Linked DNA regions of Homo sapiens: region 1 is linked to region 2. Evidence: promoter capture Hi-C in 16 types of primary human blood cells and fetal thymus (Javierre and others, 2016). All regions are on one chromosome and are shown on one strand. Each heading gives the region's core, a stretch centred on a gene start or on the middle of the fragment in contact. The rest is flanking DNA. Distances are from core to core; before and after follow the strand shown.

Region 1 (4,733 bases), core at 955-3,454, 86 kb after region 2:
TTTTTTTTTGACAGATTCTCACTCTGTCACCCAGGCTGGAGTGGCATGATCCCAGCTCACTGCAACCTCTGCCTCCCAAGGGCTCAAGCCATCCTCTGGCCTCAGCTGCTGGAGTAGCTGGGAACATGGGAACATAGGCACAAGCCACCGGACCCAGATAGTTTTTGTTTTTGTTTTTGTTTTGAGATGGAGTCTTGCTCTGTTGCCCAGCCTGGAGTGCAGTGGAGCAATCTTGGCTCACTGCAACCTCCACCTCCCAGGTTCAAGTGATTCTCCTGCCTCAGTCTCCCAAGTAGCTGGGATTACAGGCATGTGCCACCACACGCAGCAGTTTTTGTATTTTTTTGTAGATACAGGTTTCGTCATGTTGCCCAGGCTGATCTCCAGCTCTTGAGCTCAAATGATCCACCCACGTCAGCCTCCCAAAGTGCTGGGATTGCAGGCAAAAAAAAAAAAAAAAAATTGGTTTGAACATAACATTCTCTACTAGCATTAGAAAATGCTAAGGCATTAGAAAAGTAGTTTAATTTTTTCTGGTTGTGTCAATCAATGATATAGGTCCTCTAAGCAGCCATAGGAGCCTACTGATTTTTAAGTGTTTTAAAAGGGAAAGAGTAGGTATAATTCAAAGTCAATATGAATGTAAGTGCTGGGATTTATAGTGGGGGAGGGGATATAATGGATATGGTTGGCAGGAGTTGAATCCCATGATTCAAAAAACTCTAATAAGGAAACTTCACAGCTTCTATTCAAATCAAACTTAGGTCTCATAATTCTAATTCCATCAAATTACATTTACCCATTCTGAAAAAAAAATAGCTCTAATAAATGTCCTCTGCTTTGCTTACTTACCATCTTGATAAAGCGGCTTGAATTCTAGGTGAGGTACAGAATGTGCTCTCAAAATCCCACAACAAAATAGCAAAATTACCCACTTACACTAACGTCTCGTGTTTTCAAAACCACAGTTTTGAATTTGACCAACAATAAGGATCTCTCTGCTTTAGGTTAGAAATGGAAAATATTATTGACTGTCACCCAGGATCTGCCATTGACAGGTCATTCATTAAACAGTCTATTTTCTGTAACCCTGAGGCACACAGTAGTGTGAAGTTGGATTCAGATAAGGGCATCTGTTCATTCAAAACTTATGGTACAAGCATGACTCCAAAGAAAATCAGATTAGCCCGCATATGCCAATGTCTCTGATGATTACACACAAAAAAAGATCACTAGTTTGGTAGGCTGAAAGATATTAAATTAAATATACATAGCTGCAAGACAAATGAATTTCAAATGCTTTAAGTTGGATTGAAAATAGCAGCTTTTCTTCAAAATATCGACAGCTTAATATTTACAAGTTACTAAGAAGCAATTTAAGTATTTAAACCTAAAAGAAGACTAAAGCTTCTCTACCATTTCTTTTATCTCACCAAATTCTACTTACTTGGAGGTCACATATCTGCTTTTTAGTGCCACCTTTTGGGTGGTCTTGTTATTACATAACATTAAAATTGAAACGCTGGAAATTCAGTGTGTGTTTTAATTGAACTTTAGCATATTAAGTTTATGCTCTTAGTTGTCCACATTAACTGCACAGTTTATTTAGATAGAGACACTTTTCACTTGTCTTCTGTAATAAAGCAGAAGCTGTGAAGTTTCCTTGAGTTTTTTGAATCGTGGGATTCAACCCCCACCAATCTCATCCATTATATTCTCCAACCTCAATATAAACCCCAGCACTTACATTCATGTAAAGTTTGACTTTGAATTATACCTACTGTTTCCCTTTTAAAAAACTTAATGCTCCCACGGTTGCTTAGAGGATCTATGTCATTGATTGACACAACCAGAAAAGATTGAATTGCTTTTCTAATGCCGCATGATTTGCAAGCAGTGGAGCTCAAGCCAAACCTAGGTCTCATCAATCTAACTCCATCAATTACATTTACACATTCTGAAAAAATATATATATTAGCTCTAACAAATGTCCTCTGCTTTGCTTACTCGTATCTCGAAAAAGTGGCTTGAAATTCAGGTGAAGTATAAAATCTGCTCTCAAAATTCTACAGCAAAATAATAAAATTACTTACACTAACATCTGGGGTTTTTAAAACTATAGTTCTGAATTTGACCAACAACAAGGATCTTTGTGCTTTAGGTTAGAAATGGAAAATATTATTGACTGTCACCCAGGATCTACCATTGACAGGTCATTCATTGAAGAGCCTATTTGGCATATTATCCACCCATTCACCTAGATTCTCAAAGTCCCATTCCCATAATTAAGTAGATCATTGAACAATAGGAAATCTAAAAAATATTAATACAGTATCCATAAGAAATATTTTATAAATTTATAATATAATATTCAGCTCTTGGGTCAGTAAAAACATCATCTCTTTAAACACAATTTTAGAGCTATTTTTGGTAAAACCATAGTAGTTTTTCATTGATTTTTAATGTACCTTATGAGAGCACCTCTTTTACATGCAAAAAAAAAAAAGTTAAGTGAATTGGTATCATTTAAATTTTGTAACTAAAAAATGTCTTTGCTTCCAGGCAAATCAAACTTCATGCCCAATTATGATAATTAAATAATCTCAGGTATTTGGTCATGTTTACTCTTTTTACTCTTTGCTGGTGACCTCTGTTCTGTTTTTGTTTTCATTCCAAATTGCTCTGCCTTTTGTTATGTTTGCTTTTCCAAATTATCTTAAATCTTGTTGGATGTGGCACAAGTGTCAAAATGAAAGGGGTTAATTCAAGGATTCCAGGAAAGAGGTGGTTGCTGCAGCTAGCATCAGACAAGAGTGGGGTGGAAGAGCCTTCCAAGATTTCACGGGTCATAGCTAAGGCCAATGGAGAGGTAAAGCAAAAGACAATGAGAGCGAATGCAAGATAAACAGAGAAAATAATGTATTGAACATGTTGAGATAGCCGGCAAGAAGACTTGTAATCAGACAGAGCCATGGCTAAAGATTCTCAAGAGAAAGCTTATGAAGCCCACTGGGTCTGATTGAAGAGCTGGGTTAGCAGGAGTTTACCATGTAGAAGTCAGGTTGTCTTACTGAAGCAAAACCACTCTGGTCATGTACTTAAGAATTTATGACAGTGAATTACAGATAGTAATCCACCAAAGGCAAGGATACTTTTTGAGAAATGGTACCTATGCTTCCTTCTGAACCCACGCACTGACTTCACCCCATGGTTCACCAGTGGTTCAGTGCTTCCCTCCTGAACCCACCCATTTTGAGAAATTCTGCTTCAGTGTGAGAAAGGAGTAACTGGAGAAAAGAAGCTGTACAAATCTAGAATTCATCAATGATATAAATGAATACATTCCACACAATACTACAACATGTTCACTGAGTTTATTTAAGCTTTAAGATTATTTACTGGCTGGGCGTGGTGGCTGACACCTGTAATCCCAGCCCTTTGGGAGGCCGAGGCGGGCAGATAGCCTGAGGTCGGAAGTTTGAGACCAGCCTGGCCAACACGGTGAAACCCCATCTCTACTAAAGATACAAAAAAAAAATTAGCTGGGTGTGGTGGCACATGCCTGTAATCCCAGCTACTCGGGAGGCTGAGACAGGAGATTCGCTTTAACCTGGGAGGCAAAAGTTGCTGTGAGCCAAGATCTCACCATTGTACTCCAGCCTGGGTGACAGGGCAAGACTCCGTCTCAAAAAAAAAAAAAAAAAAAAAAAGATTATTTACTGTCTGCCACATGGTATGATGAAACACAAATTTGTTTTAAAGGTTGTATCCTCTGAAAGTATACTGTGCCCACTTTAGTGTGTGTACATTGACAATAATTTAAAGCCAATCAATGTTGTGCGATTGCTCTCCATATAGTGGAAGCCAGTTCTGTTTGGGAATCAACATAAATGTCCACAAACAGGAAAAACTGTACTTCTCAGAGTCATTATTAGCTTTAAACATCAGCTATTAATTGAAAAATAAACGCATATGTAAAGCGTGCAAATCTTATTGCCTTCTCTATTTTGTTAGTATATCGAGAAACCATCACTTCCAATAATGGGGAAAACATGCAGCATCCATAATAAAGTACTATTTGTTTGTTGTCCACAAAATGCAGCAAATTAGTTAATTTGTTGTTTATACCTAAATAGAATCCTCCAGAATCACTTAAATACCCACATGGATTTGTCTTCATAGCATATTTAAGAAGTACAATATATTTGGTTTTTCTTCTTTCACAAACTGGGAAATGCAGCCTCAGAAATGAGTTGAGGCTTTCCCCCAAGTTCATTGGTCTGACTTCCACATTAGACTTCACACTAAAATTGTGTACTACTTTTGTCTTGTACATATTTATATTTTAAACTCCTGAAGAATGTCAATAGTTATCTGTACTGCTCATTTGGCTCCTAACAGAAAATGTATGCAATAGAAGGTCTATTTGGTACTTAAGGACTTTTATACCAAATATATAACTGAATTCATCCAAAAGAAATATTGTTCATAAAAGATAGAATTATATTTTCTACAAGCAATTATATATTCTATACTGCACAAACAAAAGACATTTAAGTTATATAACTTCTAATTACAAAATGACAATTAATGTCACCCAATTTCCAGGAAATACAGTTTCAAAGCATTAGTTCAAAACAAAAATGTGTGTTATTACCTTATATAAGTTTACGTGATAGAAAAATTCTAAATAAAGGCCACCATTAATTTTAATCTATAATTTTAAATAATTG
Region 2 (5,525 bases), core at 2,965-5,464:
TTTCTATAATATTAAGTAAAACAGATTCTAAAGCATATGTTATCCATCACAATAGATAGATTGTTTTGTAATATGTCCTAATCAGATAGCAGAGAAGATGGTTTCGAGTTTTATCAGGCATTCAGTAAGGTTTCCCGAGGGGCAAAATAAAAGAATCTCTACAATGCAGGTCTCTAGAAAGTTTTCTTCGTAAAGGCAGAGGATGGTTGGTTTAATCCCCTCTTCTATTATCTGAGCTCTAATTAGGATTTCTATCAAGCCATCAGTGCAGCCTAGAGGGAAACATGAGTTCAAGTGAGTACGTGTGTGGCACATGCATGCTGACATGTGCTGTGTGTACTAATGCATATGAGATTGGGTACACATGCATTAGTGCATCAGGGTCCATGTTCTGCCATTGTAAATATCAGAGGGGATGGACGGGGGGAAAAAGAGCTGGGGAAGGAGGGAAGAAGGACTATTTAAGTGTAGTTTCACCCTCTAAAAATGAAGAGTTCATATCAAAGCTAGAATCACTCCCAAAGTGTGACCTTTGGTTTTGAAGCAAAGCCCTCTAAAAACGAGAATTTGCAAAGCGAGTGTCACAAAAGGGAAAAGCTCACCCAGTGTCTTTAAGGCATTCATTCATGGTCCCACGCAGTAGTGGAGCTTAGTAGTGGAGATCTTACCCATAGAATCCACACACCCTGCTACCACCAAGGGTGCCGATACTAAAAGGGTTTCCAATTCAGCAGGCCTAGGGTAGGGATCTTGATGTGGGAAAGAAAAACGCAGAGTTGAAAGACTGTAATTCTTCTACATGGGAGGTAAGGAGCAGGTGTTTGGCCGGAAGGGAATATTTTACTGTCAGATATTTCCTCACTCTTACCATTAAAATCATAGTTTGGGGTGGGGGGTAGGAAATGACACTTTAGCAAATGGAAATTTGAGAAAATGCTACTTAAAAGAGTATACAAATTATGGAGTGGAGCTATATTGGAAATACAGGGCTCAGAGCACCTGCAGGAGTAATTCTCTTGCTTTCTCCCCCTCTATATTTGTATTTTCCAGTTTGTATTCTGTGCATCTATTATACAAACGGCTCCATCTCTAAACTGTGAGTTTCCTCCAGACATTACTCATGACTTGTTCATCTTCTCATGCCTCCAGAGAGCCTCATAAAGCACTTTGCAGTAGGACCTTGATAGATATTTGTTAAACTGGATACATTGTAAGAAGTGTTGTAGAATGAGCCCAAATTAGGAGCTGGGAGATTTAGGTTTCAGGACATTCGGCCACTAGTGGACTTTTTTATCCACAGGCAAGCCATTTTGGCCTCTGGGTCTCAGCTTTTCACAGTTAGATGGAGAAAGTTGCCCTACCTGATCTCCAAGATAAATTATAACATTCTGGAGTAGTAAGTCCTTCTTCCTTTTAGGAAATGTAAAATCATCTATCATGGTATTTGTGATCATATACTCTATAAATTCAGTGGAAATTTCTCATTAAATGTGCACAAATAAAACTGTTACTTTGAATGAGTAGCAGTTATTCTGCTTAAACATGATTGCTAATATATTTTTCCTTTCTACTGTAAAAATAAAAAGTTCAGCTACTTTTATCCAGTGCAAATTACTTCCTTAGAGTGACAGATAGTAATTTTTTCCACAACGTAGCAGCTCATCCTAATCCACTAGTGTAATGTTTTAAAAATACTACCAAATGAAGTTTCCAAAGTGTCCAAGTTACTTTCTAAAAAAAAAATTATATCGAAGTAGAAATTTTCTGAGATGTAAGAATTTATTCATTGTATTCATAAGATTTAGTATTTATTTCCTTGTGAATATATACCTCTAGTAAATATTCTGTGCTTGATATTCATGTTTGGAACTTTATCTGTGTCTATCCTGTTCTCCCCATGTATTTTTAAATATTTGAATAAACTGAGTACAAATGTCACTATATAATTAAACTTAAAGGCATAATATTCAGATTCAGGATTCAGCACGGTGTTTGTGAAAGAGGAGAAAAGCTTCATTAAGAAGAAAATTCAAGCCGTCACTGTGTCTCATCAGGTGGGAGAATCCCTGGAGGTTATGAGTTCAAGACCATCAAAGAAAAGAGAATCTGTTGGAATTTCCTGAAATCCTAAATAACAAAATCTATCTGTGAATGAAAATAATTGTAATTAACAAATTTTAACCACTGTCACCTAAAATGCCTATTAAAATGATTCTTTGGCATGAACAATGACAAAATTGTTAAATTTATTGAATCAAGGTTGTATTAGAAATGGTGTTTAGTGCCAAATATTGGACTCCTTTTCACTGTAACTGGTTAAAAAGATAAAAGTTTGCTATTTGTAGGTGCAAAGCAAGGACCACAAAAGAGAACGGCTAATGCAAGGCTCAAAGGCCTTGGTGGGATAGAGAAAATGGCTGGAACCTCCTATTCTGACCCATCCAGCTGTTAGCATTGGCCTGGGTCAACTGGCCACTGAGAGGCTGAGGCATTGTGGAATTATAAAGCAATGGCCTTCAGCAATAGTAACTTCCTCCCTGGTCCTGATGTATTTCAGAATCTATCAGGGGCTGTTGGGTGTCCCTAAGGCCCCAGTGATTTCTTTATTTATAAGTTAAAACAAGATGATACATCTGCCCCTCACAAGACTCCAGAGGGTGTTCCCAGGCACACGGCAATGGGTATTGTTGCCGGGCAATTCTGAAATTCCTTCCAGAGGATTATTGCCACTCTAAGAACCTCCATCAAGCTCTGGACCCTCATGGTTCCCTCCCAGAGAAAGCGATCAGCTTGGGGCCCCATTAAGGCACCCGCCCTGCTATCCCCAGCGTAGCCAAAGTTAAACGTAGAAAAAGATGGAAATGTACAAATTACACCACATTCATTTTTCACTGGTGCATTAGTTAATTAGCCTGAAGAATAATTTGGGCATGGAGGGAGCTCTTACCCCTACAGTAGAAGGTAGACCTTCTAACCATAAGTCGTCGGGTTTTCCTTCTCCCTTCTTAGAATGATAATTAGAGGAAACAAAGAGGTCAGAGGAAACGAGTAGCAGTGATAATGTCACCCGCGTACTAATAAGCACCAATCTTCCTTCCGCCAAAAGTATTCTTTTTCTTCTAAAAGGAATTTCTGAGAATGAAGGTAGGTCAAGGCCTATGGCGATAAGTGGTTGCTTTAGAAGAGACAAAAACAGATATAGGAATTTATTATTAAAGTATCATTTAAGCAAAAAATAAAAGTATGAGCGCAAAATTTTAAAATCTTTCAGGGAAAAAAAATGAGCGGAATTCCCTCTAAGAGTTAACTCTTTCTCGCTCTGCCTTTTTAGAGCAAAGGAAGTTCCAGTGGGCTGGGAGTAAGGGACAGATTGTGGACCCTGACGAAAGGCGTGCTGGAGAAAGCTGGGAGCCCGCCGTTCGCACACAAAGCTGCGGAGTTCCCAAGCGGCGGGCGTTCTCGCCCCGGGGTACCGCAGCGCGCCAGGAAGCGCCCTGGGCTCTCTGGCTGTCCAGCCGCTCTGCTGGTGGCCGGGAGAAGTTAGTCACCCGGAGCCCGAATCCGGCGAGCGTCAAAGCATCAAGAGGCTGGAGAATGGGGAGGGAGGAAACCGGGTGCCGGGACGGAGGGGAGGAAGCGAAGGGAACGCGGTGGTTAGGGGACGCACGGGAAGCTGAAAAGCTCTGGCTGGTGGATGGAGTTGCACGGTCTGCGAGGCCAGAGCGCACGGGTGTGCAAAGGGGAAAAACTTGCGGCAGGAACTTCCCACCGAGGGCGAGAAAAGCAGGCAAGAAGGAGGCAGGGAGAGACTTGAAACGTCTCAATAACTTTAACCAAAACACCCGTTCAGGAGATGAGGTAAGCCAAGGTTAGCCAACCCCAATTGGTTGTGAAATATCAGACAGACCCGGAGCCGCTGTGGCTTTAAAAGTGGCCAAGGAAATCTGTTTTTCTTGCCCCATTACTTTTTATTTTCCCCTCTCCCCTCCTACCACCTCGCCGGGTCCCAGTCCCTTCCTCCTACTTCGTCTCCCTTTCCTCGATCACCCTCCTCTTTTGCCCTCCCCCATCTGATTAGGCGCGGACTGGGAAGGGTGGGAGTGGTGGGGGAAGCTCTCCCTTTAAGAGGCAGCGTGCAGTGACGAACTGTTGAAATTGCCATTGCAGGATGGCATGCCGCTATAAATTCATTGTTCCACCTCCTCGCATCTTCACAGCGCTCGCGCTGCTCTCGGCGCTCGCAGCTGCCGACTGGGGATGACGGCGGGCAGGAGGAGACCGCAGCCGAAGGGACACAGACACGCCGCTTCACCAGCTCGCCTCAGGCTGCCCCCCTGCATTTTTGTTTTAATTTTTACGGCTTTTTCCCCTCTCTTTCTTCCCTTCCTCCTGGTCCCAGCAGAGCCAAGGAAACCCACAAAATAAGAAAGGAAGTGGGCCCCGGAGCTTGGAACCTCCACAGCCGGCTTGTCCAGCGCAGCGCGGGGGCGGGAGGCTGCGCGCACCAGTTGCCAGCCCGGTGCGCGGTACCTTTCCTTACTTTTCTTGAAACAGCGATCGTGCCTGCATTTGGTGGTTTTTTGGTTTTTGTTTTTTTCCTTTTCCCGTATTTGCTGAATCTCCACTATCCGACTTTTTTTTTTTAATCTTTTCTTTCCCCCCCCCCCCACCCCACCTCTTTCTGGAGCACGAATCCAAACATTTTCCCAAGCAACAAAGAAAAGTTCGCACGCTGGCACCGCAGCCCGGACAGGCTGGCGCTGCTGCCGGGCCCCCCTCCCTCCGACACTTGACTCAATCCTGCAAGCAAGTGTGTGTGTGTCCCCATCCCCCGCCCCGTTAACTTCATAGCAAATAACAAATACCCATAAAGTCCCAGTCGCGCAGCCCCTCCCCGCGGGCAGCGCACTATGCTGCTCGGGTGGGCGTCCCTGCTGCTGTGCGCGTTCCGCCTGCCCCTGGCCGCGGTCGGCCCCGCCGCGACACCTGCCCAGGATAAAGCCGGGCAGCCTCCGACTGCTGCAGCAGCCGCCCAGCCCCGCCGGCGGCAGGGGGAGGAGGTGCAGGAGCGAGCCGAGCCTCCCGGCCACCCGCACCCCCTGGCGCAGCGGCGCAGGAGCAAGGGGCTGGTGCAGAACATCGACCAACTCTACTCCGGCGGCGGCAAGGTGGGCTACCTCGTCTACGCGGGCGGCCGGAGGTTCCTCTTGGACCTGGAGCGAGATGGTTCGGTGGGCATTGCTGGCTTCGTGCCCGCAGGAGGCGGGACGAGTGCGCCCTGGCGCCACCGGAGCCACTGCTTCTATCGGGGCACAGTGGACGGTAGTCCCCGCTCTCTGGCTGTCTTTGACCTCTGTGGGGGTCTCGACGGCTTCTTCGCGGTCAAGCACGCGCGCTACACCCTAAAGCCACTGCTGCGCGGACCCTGGGCGGAGGAAGAAAAGGGGCGCGTGTACGGGGATGGGTCCGCACGGATCCTGCACGTCTACACCCGCGAGGGCTTCAGCTTCGAGGCCCTGCCGCCG

The links. Contacts are between HindIII fragments. The CHiCAGO score rates a contact against its expected background, and 5 or more counts as called.
Region 1: a contact is called between a fragment that was not itself captured here and the fragment with the promoter of ADAMTS5 in region 2, in 1 of 17 cell types (M2 macrophages). The highest score is 5.3, in M2 macrophages.

What each region holds. Positions count from the first base shown.
Region 1 is chr21:26,878,443-26,883,175 of GRCh38, reverse strand. The region is part of intron 1 of LOC105372760 (a long non-coding RNA gene); the gene reads right to left. Among named protein-coding and RNA genes, the nearest start is that of ADAMTS1, 35 kb to the right of the region's middle. The HindIII fragment of the contact is 1,589 bases long and covers 1,410-2,998 here.
Region 2 is chr21:26,965,777-26,971,301 of GRCh38, reverse strand. It overlaps ADAMTS5 (ADAM metallopeptidase with thrombospondin type 1 motif 5), which reads left to right and starts at 4,214. Exons shown (of 8, transcript NM_007038.5): 1 at 4,214-5,525. The coding sequence starts at 4,911. It overlaps LOC124905050, which reads left to right. Exons shown (of 3, transcript XM_047441063.1): 2 at 3,332-3,858; 3 at 4,218-4,646. The coding sequence ends at 4,646. The HindIII fragment of the contact is 6,499 bases long and covers 2,014-5,525 here.